3 separate regions of the Homo sapiens genome follow, and all the other regions are linked to region 1. Evidence: promoter capture Hi-C in 16 types of primary human blood cells and fetal thymus (Javierre and others, 2016). All regions are on one chromosome and are shown on one strand. Each heading gives the region's core, a stretch centred on a gene start or on the middle of the fragment in contact. The rest is flanking DNA. Distances are from core to core; before and after follow the strand shown.

Region 1 (3,366 bases), core at 822-3,321:
ATCACCTGAGGTCAGAAGTTTGAGACCAGCCTGGCCAACATGACGAAACCTCGTCTCTACTAAAAATACACAGATTAGCTGGGGGTGGTGGTGGGCGGCTGTAATCCCAGCTACTTGAGAGGCTGAGGCAGGAGAATCACTTCAACCCAGGAGGCAGAGGTTGCAGTGGGCCGAGATCGCGCCACTGAACTCCAGCCTGGGCGGCAAAGAGAGACTCCGTCTTAAAAAAAAAAAAAAAAGAAAAAAAAAAAAGAAAAAGAGAGAAAGAAAGAAACATCATCTTTTACATAGTGGCAAGATATTTCCCCACAAAATATTTATTATTTACAAAGGGAAGGACCCTAACTTTATGGACACACTTGGCAGACACCACCTCAGCCCCCAGGACGTGACTAGCACCAACAGCCAGGGGCATCCTGTGTCTCGTAAGACGCTGGGAAGGGCACAATTTCCCTGTTGAGGTTTTCTTGCCAAAAATCAGTAATATGAAATCAATTATGACAAAACATCAGAGAAATGCCCCCGAACTGGGGGGCATTTTATAAAATAGTGGACTCATCATTGGATCCTGGACCACGGTAAAGTCATCCATGAGGTAGCTGCTAAGCAAGAATAAATACTGGAGACCAGATCATGGGATGATACCAACATGAACGCCAGCGTCTACATGTTGCTGAATGAACTGTGGTTCTCTAAGAGGTCAGCATTCTAGGGGCTCTGGGCAAAAGGCACACGGGAAATCTGTGCTCCTTTTGTATCCTTTTTCTAAGTTACAGATAATTTTTTTTTTTTTTGAGACCGAGTTTCGCTCTTGTCTCCCAGACTGGAGTGCAATGGCGCGATCTTGGCTCTCCGCAACCTGCGCCTCTCGGTGTGGTACCCTACTTTGTTTTAACCTGACTGACTCTCTCTTAGCTGAGAGGGCCGGACAGACACCATTTTGGTTTCTTCGCTTGCAGCCCCTTGTCCCCGTCCCTTAAGGACATAACTGGGGCAAGCTGACTCCAAGCACATCCAGGAATGCGCTTACTGATAAAATACTGATAAGAAACTGGAGCAAGCTGTACCAGCAGCTCCTGGGAACGCGCTCGGTTGATGGTACCCAAAGCCCCTGCGTTTATCACTTTGTGATAATTTAAGCCCCTGTACCTGGAACTGTTTATTTTCCTGTAACTGTTTCTGTAACCATTTATCTTTTAACTTTTTGCCTATTCTGCTTCTGTAAAAAAATCGCTTCAGCTAGCCTCCCCTCCTCTATTTAGACCAAGGTATCAAAAGAAATCTAGCCCCTTCTTCGGGGCCGAGGGAATTTGCAGCTCTAGCAGTCTGTCAGTCGCTGGCAATACAGGACTCCTGAGTAGTCTCAGAGTGTGGCGTTCTCTCTATAACTCCCTCAGTTACAACATCGGGTTCAAGCGATTCTCCTGCTTCAGCCTCCGGAGTAGCTGGGATTACAGGCGTGCACCACCACGCCCAATAATTTTTGTATTTTTAGTAGAGAGGGGGTTTCACCATGTTGGCCAGGCTGGTCTCGAACTCCGGGCCTCAAGCAATCTGCCCGCCTCTGCCTCCCAAAGTGCTGGATTACAGGCGCGAACCACCGCCTCCGGCCTTTTTTTTTCCTCTCTTTTTTTTTTTTTTTTTTTAAACTCACAGACACTGTAAGGCTGCCTGGGCGCGGAGCCGTCCTTGCCGGCGGCGGAACCCGGGGAATTCTCCCGGGGCTGCGGGGCCCTGGTCGGCAGCGCCCACCGCCCCAGGTCACCCACGGGAGACCGAGGGAACGCTCCCGCTCCACGCGGCCGCAACCCCCGCCCCGCCCCGCCGCAGCCTCCGCGAGGGGATCCCCGGTCCGGGCCTGGCCGAGCTCTGAGGGTCGACCTCGCGCTCCAGGTCCCCACCAAAGCGCTGCGTCCGACAGGACGGCAGCTGCTGGGGTTTTCTACAGGAAGAGTGGTCGGAGCGGCGCCCCCCACGCCTCCCACGCCTCCCACGCCGCCCGCCCGCACCTCACCCTAACGCCCGCCAGCAGCGCTGGCCAGGTCCCGCCGCGTTGCCACAGCGACCGGGTCAGTCGGCCGCGTCCGGCTGCGCTCGGTGCAGCGCTCGGGTCCCGCCGACAGGAAACGGGGTCCCTGGCGCTAGGTTCCGGCCCCTCCCGCCCCGCCGGGTTCCGCGCTGCGCCCGGGTCCGAGGGGCGCCCCGGCCGACCCGACCACCGCCGCAGATCGAAGGAGGGAGCCCGGCCTCCTCACCGGTCAGCGGGGCGACTCCGGACGGGGCTCCGGGCTATGGGGACGGCGGGTTCCGCCGCGCGAGGCGCCCCCACCTTCGCCGCCCCCGGCCCGGCCGAGGGTCCCCAGGCGCCCGCTTCCTGAGGCCGCCCGGCTCGCGGTCCCGAAGGGTTGACTTGAGCTTTTGCCCTGAGATGAAGGGAGCACGGGGCGGCCGAGGCTGCCCGTGGGGGTCTGTTCGGGCCGGGGGCGCCACGAAGTCCTGCCTAAGGGTCGGCTGCGGCCACCGGGGCACGAGTTCCCGGCGCTGCCCACGGGCTCGGAGACCGGCGGGGCCCAGGGGCCGTGCGCGCGGTCGCTCAGACCCTGATTAGGGAACTGGGGGAAGGAGGGGGGTCGGGACCCACCGAGGCCCGAAGTCGCCCCCACCATCCTGTGGGAACAACATCCTCAGGCACAGCCATTCCCAACCATTCACATCCTCAGAAAAAGGCACGTGTCCGTATCCATCTGCGGATGGATGAACAGAGCCCGGCCCCGGGACAGAGCAGCCTGGCTCACCCGAACCCTCAGCCCGCAATTCTGCGTGGGAGTGGAGGGGGTGTTTGGTGTCTGGGAATTCCCCTGGTGGGGCAATAAGCCAGGGGTCTGGTGTCATCCTCCACCCACATTGTTAACACTGGATCACTCCTCTCCGTGCCGTGCCTGCAGCCCAGGCACCCTGCAGCCTGTCCTCCCCGAACCATGCGTCCTGGTAGAGCTGTCTCCCTCGCCCACAGTCCTCAGTCCCGCCTCACACACCAAACCCTCTTCTGCCTCAGGTCCTTTGCGCCAGTTGCCTCTGCCTAGACTTGGTTCCCTGGATGCCCCCTCCCCACCCCATGTGTATGTCCGGCTCCCTGGACCCACCCCCCACACTGTGTGTCTAGCCCCCTGGACCCACCCCCCACTCTGTGTCTAGTCCCCTGGACTCCCCTCCCCACCCCCTGTGTCTAGCTCCCTGGACCCCCAACCTGGCCCATGTGTCCAACTCCCAGGACCCCCCCACCCTGTGTCCAGCTCCCTGGTTTCCCCCACCACCCCATGTGTTTGGCTCCCTGTCCTGCTGCCTTCTCAGTGCTTGTGCACCCCC
Region 2 (3,157 bases), core at 13-2,512, 290 kb after region 1:
GCATTTCAAGTGCCCCGCGCAGTGACTGGCCCGGAATTCCGCGCGTCTTCCCGGTAGCGTTTTTCCTTTGTCTTTGGTAGAGGACTGGGGGTGGGTGGGGGGGTGGGTCTCACACTGTTGCTCACGCTGGTCTCGAACTCCTGAGCTCCGTGGATCCTCCCGCCTCGGCCTCCTACGCGCTGGGAGTGCAGGTGTGAGCAACCCCGCCCGGCCCAGAGCGGCTTAATACCAGCTTTCCAGCGTTGTGATTTCCGGAGAAACGCAGGCTGACTTCCATGTTTACTATTCACTCTTCTTCACTAATGACACCACGTACATTCTGTTCGTGATTTCTGTGTGACTCAAGTCCACAAATCCTTCGTGTGCTATGCGGAGCCTTTGTGATTGTTGAGGGTTCTCAAGATACTCACTGATGGGGCCGGGCGCGGTAGCCCATGCCTGTAATCCCAGCACTTTGGGAGGCCGAGGCGGGTGGATCACAAGATCAAGAGATCGAGACCATCCTGGCCAACATGGTGAAACCCCGTCTCTACTAAAAATACAAAAATTAGCCGGGCGTGGTGGTGTGTGCCTGTAATCCCAGCTATCGGGAGGCTGAGGCAGGAGAATCACTTGAACCTGGGAGGCGGAGGTTACAGTGAGCCGAGATCGTGCCACTGCCCTCCAGCCTGAGTGACAGTGAGACTCTGTCTCAAAAAAAAAAAAAAAAAAAAAAACCGGTATTCATTTATGTAAAAGACTCCCTGATGTAGGTAATGTCGGTCTGGTTTAAAAACCTATACAACCAAACAACATAGGCAATGTTTAGTCTTAGGAAAGACTAACCAACATCAGGTGGCAGTTTTTCTGTTTAAAAAAACCTATTTTGGCCGGGAGTGGTGTTTCACCCCTGTAATCCTAGCACTTTGAGAGGCCTACGTGGACAGATTGCCTGAGTTCAGGAGTTCAAGACCAGCCTGGACAACATGGTGAAACCCCGCCTGTACTAAAATACAAAAAATTAGCGCGGCGTGGTGGCGCCTGTAATCCCAGCTACTCGAGAGGCTGAGGCAGGAGAATCGCTTGAACCCGGGAGGCGGAGCTTCAGTGAGCCGAGATGGTGCCATTGGACTCCAGCCTGGGTGACAGAGCGAGACTCTGTCTCCAAAAAAAAAAATGGTTTCAAAATGTTTTGAGAAGCATCTGTTTTGTCTGATGTGTTTTAGTTGATTAAGTGCAAGTTGCAGGATCGGAATCTTGAACAATAAATCTTCCACTAAAAAGTGTTGAGTGGAATTACTGCTCGTCGTAACAGGTGTAATGAGACAGCGTGGTACTGAAACCAGCAAATTTGTGGGTGTGTCTGTGGCCAGCCCAGTGTGTGTCCTGCTGACTGGACCAGCTGTGGTTTTCCTGTCTGTGACCTTCAGCTCCCTTCTGCATCTTTGCTTTCTGTTTGGTGTGTTCTCTCATAATGTCTGTATCGTCATTTTCATTCTCCATATTTTTTTAGTTACGACGATTCTTTTCCTTCATGGTTTTGACCATTAGTGTTTTTAATTTCTGTTGTGATACAGTACTTTGTCTTGAGCTCCACAATTGTGTAATAAAATAACAATACACTGGCCGGATGCGGTGGCTCACGCCTGTAATCCCAGTACTTTGGGAGGCTGAGGTGGGCGGATCACGAGGTCAGGAGATCGAGACCATCCTGGCTAACACAATGAAACCCCATCTCTACTAAAAATACAAAAAATTCACCGGGCGCGGTGGCTCACGCCTGTAATCCCAGCACTTTGGGAGGCCAAGGCAGGCGGATCGTGAGGTCAGGAGATCAAGACCATCCTGGCTAACGTGGTGAAACCCCGTCTCTACTAAAAATACAAAAAATTAGCTGGGTGTGGTGGTGGATGCCTGTAGTTCCAGCTACTTGGGAGGCTGAGGCAGGAGAATGGCGTGAACCCGGGAGGCGGAGCTTGCAGTGAGCCCAGATCACGCCACTGCACTCCAGCCTGGGCGACAGAGCGAGGCTCCGTCTCAAAAAAAAAAAAAAAAAAATACAAAAATTTAGCCGGGCATGGTGGCATGCGCCTGTCGTCCCAGCTACTCGGGAGGCTGAAGCAGGAGAATCGCTTGAACCTAGGAAGTGGAGGTTGCAGTGAGCAGAGATCATGTCACTGCACTCCAGCCTGGGCGACAGACAGAGACTCCATCAATAAATAAACAAAATAACAATACACCACACATACTGACTTGCGAGTGTGTGAAGGGGTTCTGTCCTGAGAACACACATCTCTTCAGCTACTTTTGCTGTGTTATTAGCAATTTGTGTGTTATTTCTTCTGGAACTTCCAGAATTTCTCAGGACAATTGCATATGTTTCAGATGTGCAAAGCCTTGATGTGACTTCACACTCCAGGGATCACAGTTGGTGCTGCCACAGGCGTGTGCCCTGCAAGCACAGGCATTCCAAGAAATGGTTCACTGCAGCAAAATTTCTGCTGTGGGGCAGGGACCAGCTCCATAGAATCTGCCCTCCAGGAGGGATTTCCCATCCTGACCAGCATTCAAGAGTAGGTTCTCTGCTCACACTATGGGAGTCAGATGTTCGGAGAATGTTCCAGACTGTGTGTTGGGAAGTATTTCAAAGCTTGATCTCCCCAAGCCTTGTGTGCTCCTCTTGCCTGGGGCTAGTGGTCAGGAGCCCCGTGGGTCAATTTCTGGCCAGGTGAGCACGTGGCAGCTGGCCATAGCATAGCTGGGTCGAAGGGACTGCAGAGCCCAGCACAACCCCCATGCCTCCTCCAGTGCTTCCCCAGGAGGCAGGGTGGACACTGCCCTACCTGGGGCCCTATGGCTGGGCCTCAGATCTTCCCAGCCAGCCTCTTTGGCCAGGTGAACTCAAACTCCTGGACTCCAGGGATCATCCCACCTCAGCCTCGTGAGTAGCTGGGACTACAGGCATGAGCCACTGTGCCCAGCCAAAAAAAAAATTTTTTTTTTTTTTTTGAGAGGGAGTCTTACTCTGTCGCCCAAGCTGGAGTGCAGTGGTGTGATCTCGGCTCACTGCAACTTCCACCTCCCAGGTTGAAGCGATTCTCCTGCCTCAGCCTCCCGAGTAGCTGGGATTACAGGTGCTCACCACCACGCCCGGCTAATTTTTGTATTTTTAGTAGAG
Region 3 (3,275 bases), core at 476-2,975, 340 kb after region 1:
CTGCCACCACTCCCGCCTAATTTTTGTATTTTTGGTAGAGACGGGATTTCGCCGTGTTGGCCAGGCTGGTCTCAAACTCCTGACCTCAGGTGATCCACCTGCCTCGGCCTCCCAGAGTGCTGGGATCGCAGGCATGAACCACTGCACCCAGCCAGCGTGGTATATTAAAAATACTTTCCTGCACATTAACAAATGTTCACCTCTCGGTGCAGCTCGCCTTGTAAGTGTGGTGGGGAAGCTAGGAGTCTGAGTGCACATGCAGGAGCTCTTCGCTGCAGGTCCCGAGTGGAGGGAGAGGTAATCTGTAGAGTGCCCCAAGAGTGAAGTGCTGCGTCCCAGTGTCAAACAGAGGTAACACCTCGCTTTTCTTTTCCTTTTTTTTAAACGGTGACGGGGGTCTCACCATGTTGCCCAGGCTGGTCTTGAACTCCTGGGCTCAAGTGTTCCTCCCACCTCAGACTCCCAAGTTCAGGGATAATAGGTGTAAGCCACTGAGCCCAACCTAAAACTCGCTTTTAAATAAAGAACTCAGGCCGGGTGCGGTGGCTCACACCTGGAATCCCAGCACTTTGGGAGGCCGAGGCAGATGGATCACCTGAGGTCAGGGGATTGAGACCATCCCGCCCAACATGGTGAAACCCCGTCTCTACTAAAAATACCAAAATTAGTCGGGCGTGGTGGTGGGTGCCTGTAGTCCCAGCTACTCTGGAGGCTGAGGTGGGAGAATCACTTGAACCCGGGAGGTGGAGGTCACAGTGAGCCGAGATGGCACCACTGCACTCCAACCTGGGCGACAGGAGCAAAAACTCCATCAAAAAAAAAAAAAAAGGAAGGAGAAAGAAAGAAAGAATACACTGATCTCTCTTATAGTGTATACTGTCTATTACTACTGATTTTAAAGCTACAACCTTAAGCATCATACTCCCTGTGTTTAGAATATTCAGGGTGTAGTATTGTGGTTCACATTGTAGTATTGTGGTTCTCCATTGTGGTTCCCCGGAAGTGATCAAGGTGATACTTTACATTCAGGGTGTCCAGTCTTTAGGCTTTCCTGGGCCACATTGGAAAAAGTATTGTCTACACTAACAAGAGCTGGTAAGCTGAAAAAATCACAAAAATCATAATGTTTTAAGAAAGTTTATGAATTTGTATTGGGCCACATTCAAAGCCATCCTGGGCTGCATGCAGCCCACGGGCCGTGGGTTGGACAAGCTTGTTTTAAGAGTTTAGGAAGAAAAATAATACTTCTGGTTATTTTTTTCATCCTGCTTAGTTGCTATTTTTCTGTTTTACAGTGTGCAATACTGTAATATAATTTATACATATATTAATATATTGTTGCCAGCTTATTTTTACTTTAAACTTTTTTTTGAGGAATATTTCACATAAAACAAACTTAAGGGTACCTTTCAAAGAGTTTTGACAGCTGTATACACCATGTAGCCGAAATCACAATCAAAATAATAGATCCAGATATTACCCCTCACCCCAAACCTTCCTCTTGCCCCTTGGCAGTCAGCCTCATCCCCCTGGAGAGTCCCAGACACTCAACTCTGTGCCTCCCCTCCCGTAGAAGTGTTTTCTTCCAGGGTTTCATAAACATGGAATCATGTAGAATATACTGGTGTTTGGCTCGCTCTTATTCACATGGTATATTTGAGGTTCATCAGTGTTACTTGTGTGGGCAGTTTTCCTTTGCGATTGCTGGGCGGCAGCTGAGTGGATTCTCTTCTATGGATGTACCCCCATTTGTGGATCCATTCACCTACGGCTGACTGTCTAGACAGTGTCCAGTCTGGGCTGCTGTGCATCACGCTGCTGTGAACGTCTGTGTAGGAGTCACATTTGTGTGAACTGGTGCTCTCACTTCTCTTGGCAGATAACTACAAGTACGAGTGGTGGGGCCAGGTGGTCAGTGTGCATTTATTTCACAGAAAAGCTGACCCACTTTTCCAGAGCAGTTGCACCAGTTTGTATTCTTGCTGGCAGTATGTGACAGCTAGTTGCTCCATATCCTTGTCAGCACTTGGTTTTGTCAGTCTTCTTATATTAGCCATTATCTGGGTGTGTAGTGGTATGTCAGTATGTGTATTTTTTTTTAATACTTTGGATCATTTACATCAACCGTGGTTTAATTTGCCTTGCTGTTGAGCATCTCTACATGTGCTTTTGGCCATTTCTATGTCATCTGTAGTGAATGACCATTTTTAATGGGTTGTTTACCTTCTTACTGAATATTAAGCTTTGTTTATATACCCTGAACAGAAGTCCTTTGTGAGATAGGTGTATTGTGAATATTTTCTCCCATTCCATCCTTTGCCCTGTTTGTTGATACTGTATTTCATATATTCAAATATTGATTTCTACTTAATTTTTCACTTAGAGGTGTACAGTCAAAAGCATTTGGAGGCTACTGCTCAGCTGAATTAGCAGAAGGAATTGCTGTGGACTGAATAGAGGAAGGAAAGGACCCAGGCGCTGTCCCACAGCCTCTCCCGTGACCTCACCCTGGGGGAGGCATGGGTGTTTGGCAGAGAGCCCTTTTTGGTTTTACGTGAATGTCATTTGGGCGGGTGTGGGGTAGAATGATCTCAAGAGCATTCTCACCTCCGAGGAGCGGTTGCGTCTCGATGCATCGGCACAGGAGGGCTGTGCACTTTCCACTGCCACCACCCGTGAGACCTCCAGAGAGCCTGACCCTGCCATCTGCACTAAGATCCCCAGCTGTTGTCTGGTGATCCAGATGAGAGGACCAGCGTGATAGTTTCTCACAGCAGCCTCTGGCAGGACCTGGAGTGGAAATCTTCCTTAGTCTAAAACACATCCCGAATGACTGAACATTATAGGAGAATGTGTCTTTGTTTTACGAGGCCACTTGAAGTCCACCTCCCTCCTCTTCTGGGTGTGGCCCTTGCCTGTAGCTCCGAGTGTGAGGATCTTAAGTGTGAGGGTGTGTGCTCCTGAGCCAGCCTTTACCCCAACACCAAGTTGCCACACCGAACTGCAGACCTGGCAGCCCTGTCCAGCAACTTCCTTATCACAGTTACAGTGCAGCAAATGGGAGAGGGGCCAAAACCCCCAAAATTATTCTCCTTATTACAGTTACAGTACAGCAAATGGGAGAGGGGGGCCAAACCCCCAAAATTATTCTCCTTATTACAGTTACAGTACAGCAAATGGGAGAGGGGCCAAAACCCCCAAAATTATTCTCCTTATTACAGTTACAGTGCAGCAAATGGGAGAGGGGGGCCAAAACCCCAAAATTATTCTCCTTA

The links. The method cuts DNA at HindIII sites, captures the fragments that hold promoters and counts their contacts. A CHiCAGO score of 5 or more calls a contact.
Region 2: a fragment that was not itself captured here is called in contact with the fragment with the promoter of CCDC57 in region 1 in 1 of 17 cell types (activated CD4 T cells); the score reaches 5.2 in activated CD4 T cells.
Region 3: a contact is called between a fragment that was not itself captured here and the fragment with the promoter of CCDC57 in region 1, in 6 of 17 cell types (activated CD4 T cells, naive CD4 T cells, total CD8 T cells and 3 more). The highest score is 12.7, in activated CD4 T cells.

Annotation. Positions count from the first base shown.
Region 1 is chr17:82,210,771-82,214,136 of GRCh38, forward strand. It overlaps CCDC57 (coiled-coil domain containing 57), which reads right to left and starts at 2,072. Exons shown (of 19, transcript NM_001394669.1): 1 at 2,015-2,072. RefSeq lists a silencer at 1,613-2,532 and an enhancer at 2,483-3,366. The HindIII fragment of the contact is 36,876 bases long and covers 1-3,366 here.
Region 2 is chr17:82,497,957-82,501,113 of GRCh38, forward strand. No RefSeq gene overlaps it. Among named protein-coding and RNA genes, the nearest start is that of TRX-CAT1-8, 4.7 kb to the left of the region's middle. The HindIII fragment of the contact is 2,729 bases long and covers 1-2,627 here.
Region 3 is chr17:82,546,264-82,549,538 of GRCh38, forward strand. All of the region lies in intron 1 of FOXK2 (forkhead box K2), which reads left to right. Among named protein-coding and RNA genes, the nearest start is that of FOXK2, 28 kb to the left of the region's middle. The HindIII fragment of the contact is 1,030 bases long and covers 1,211-2,240 here.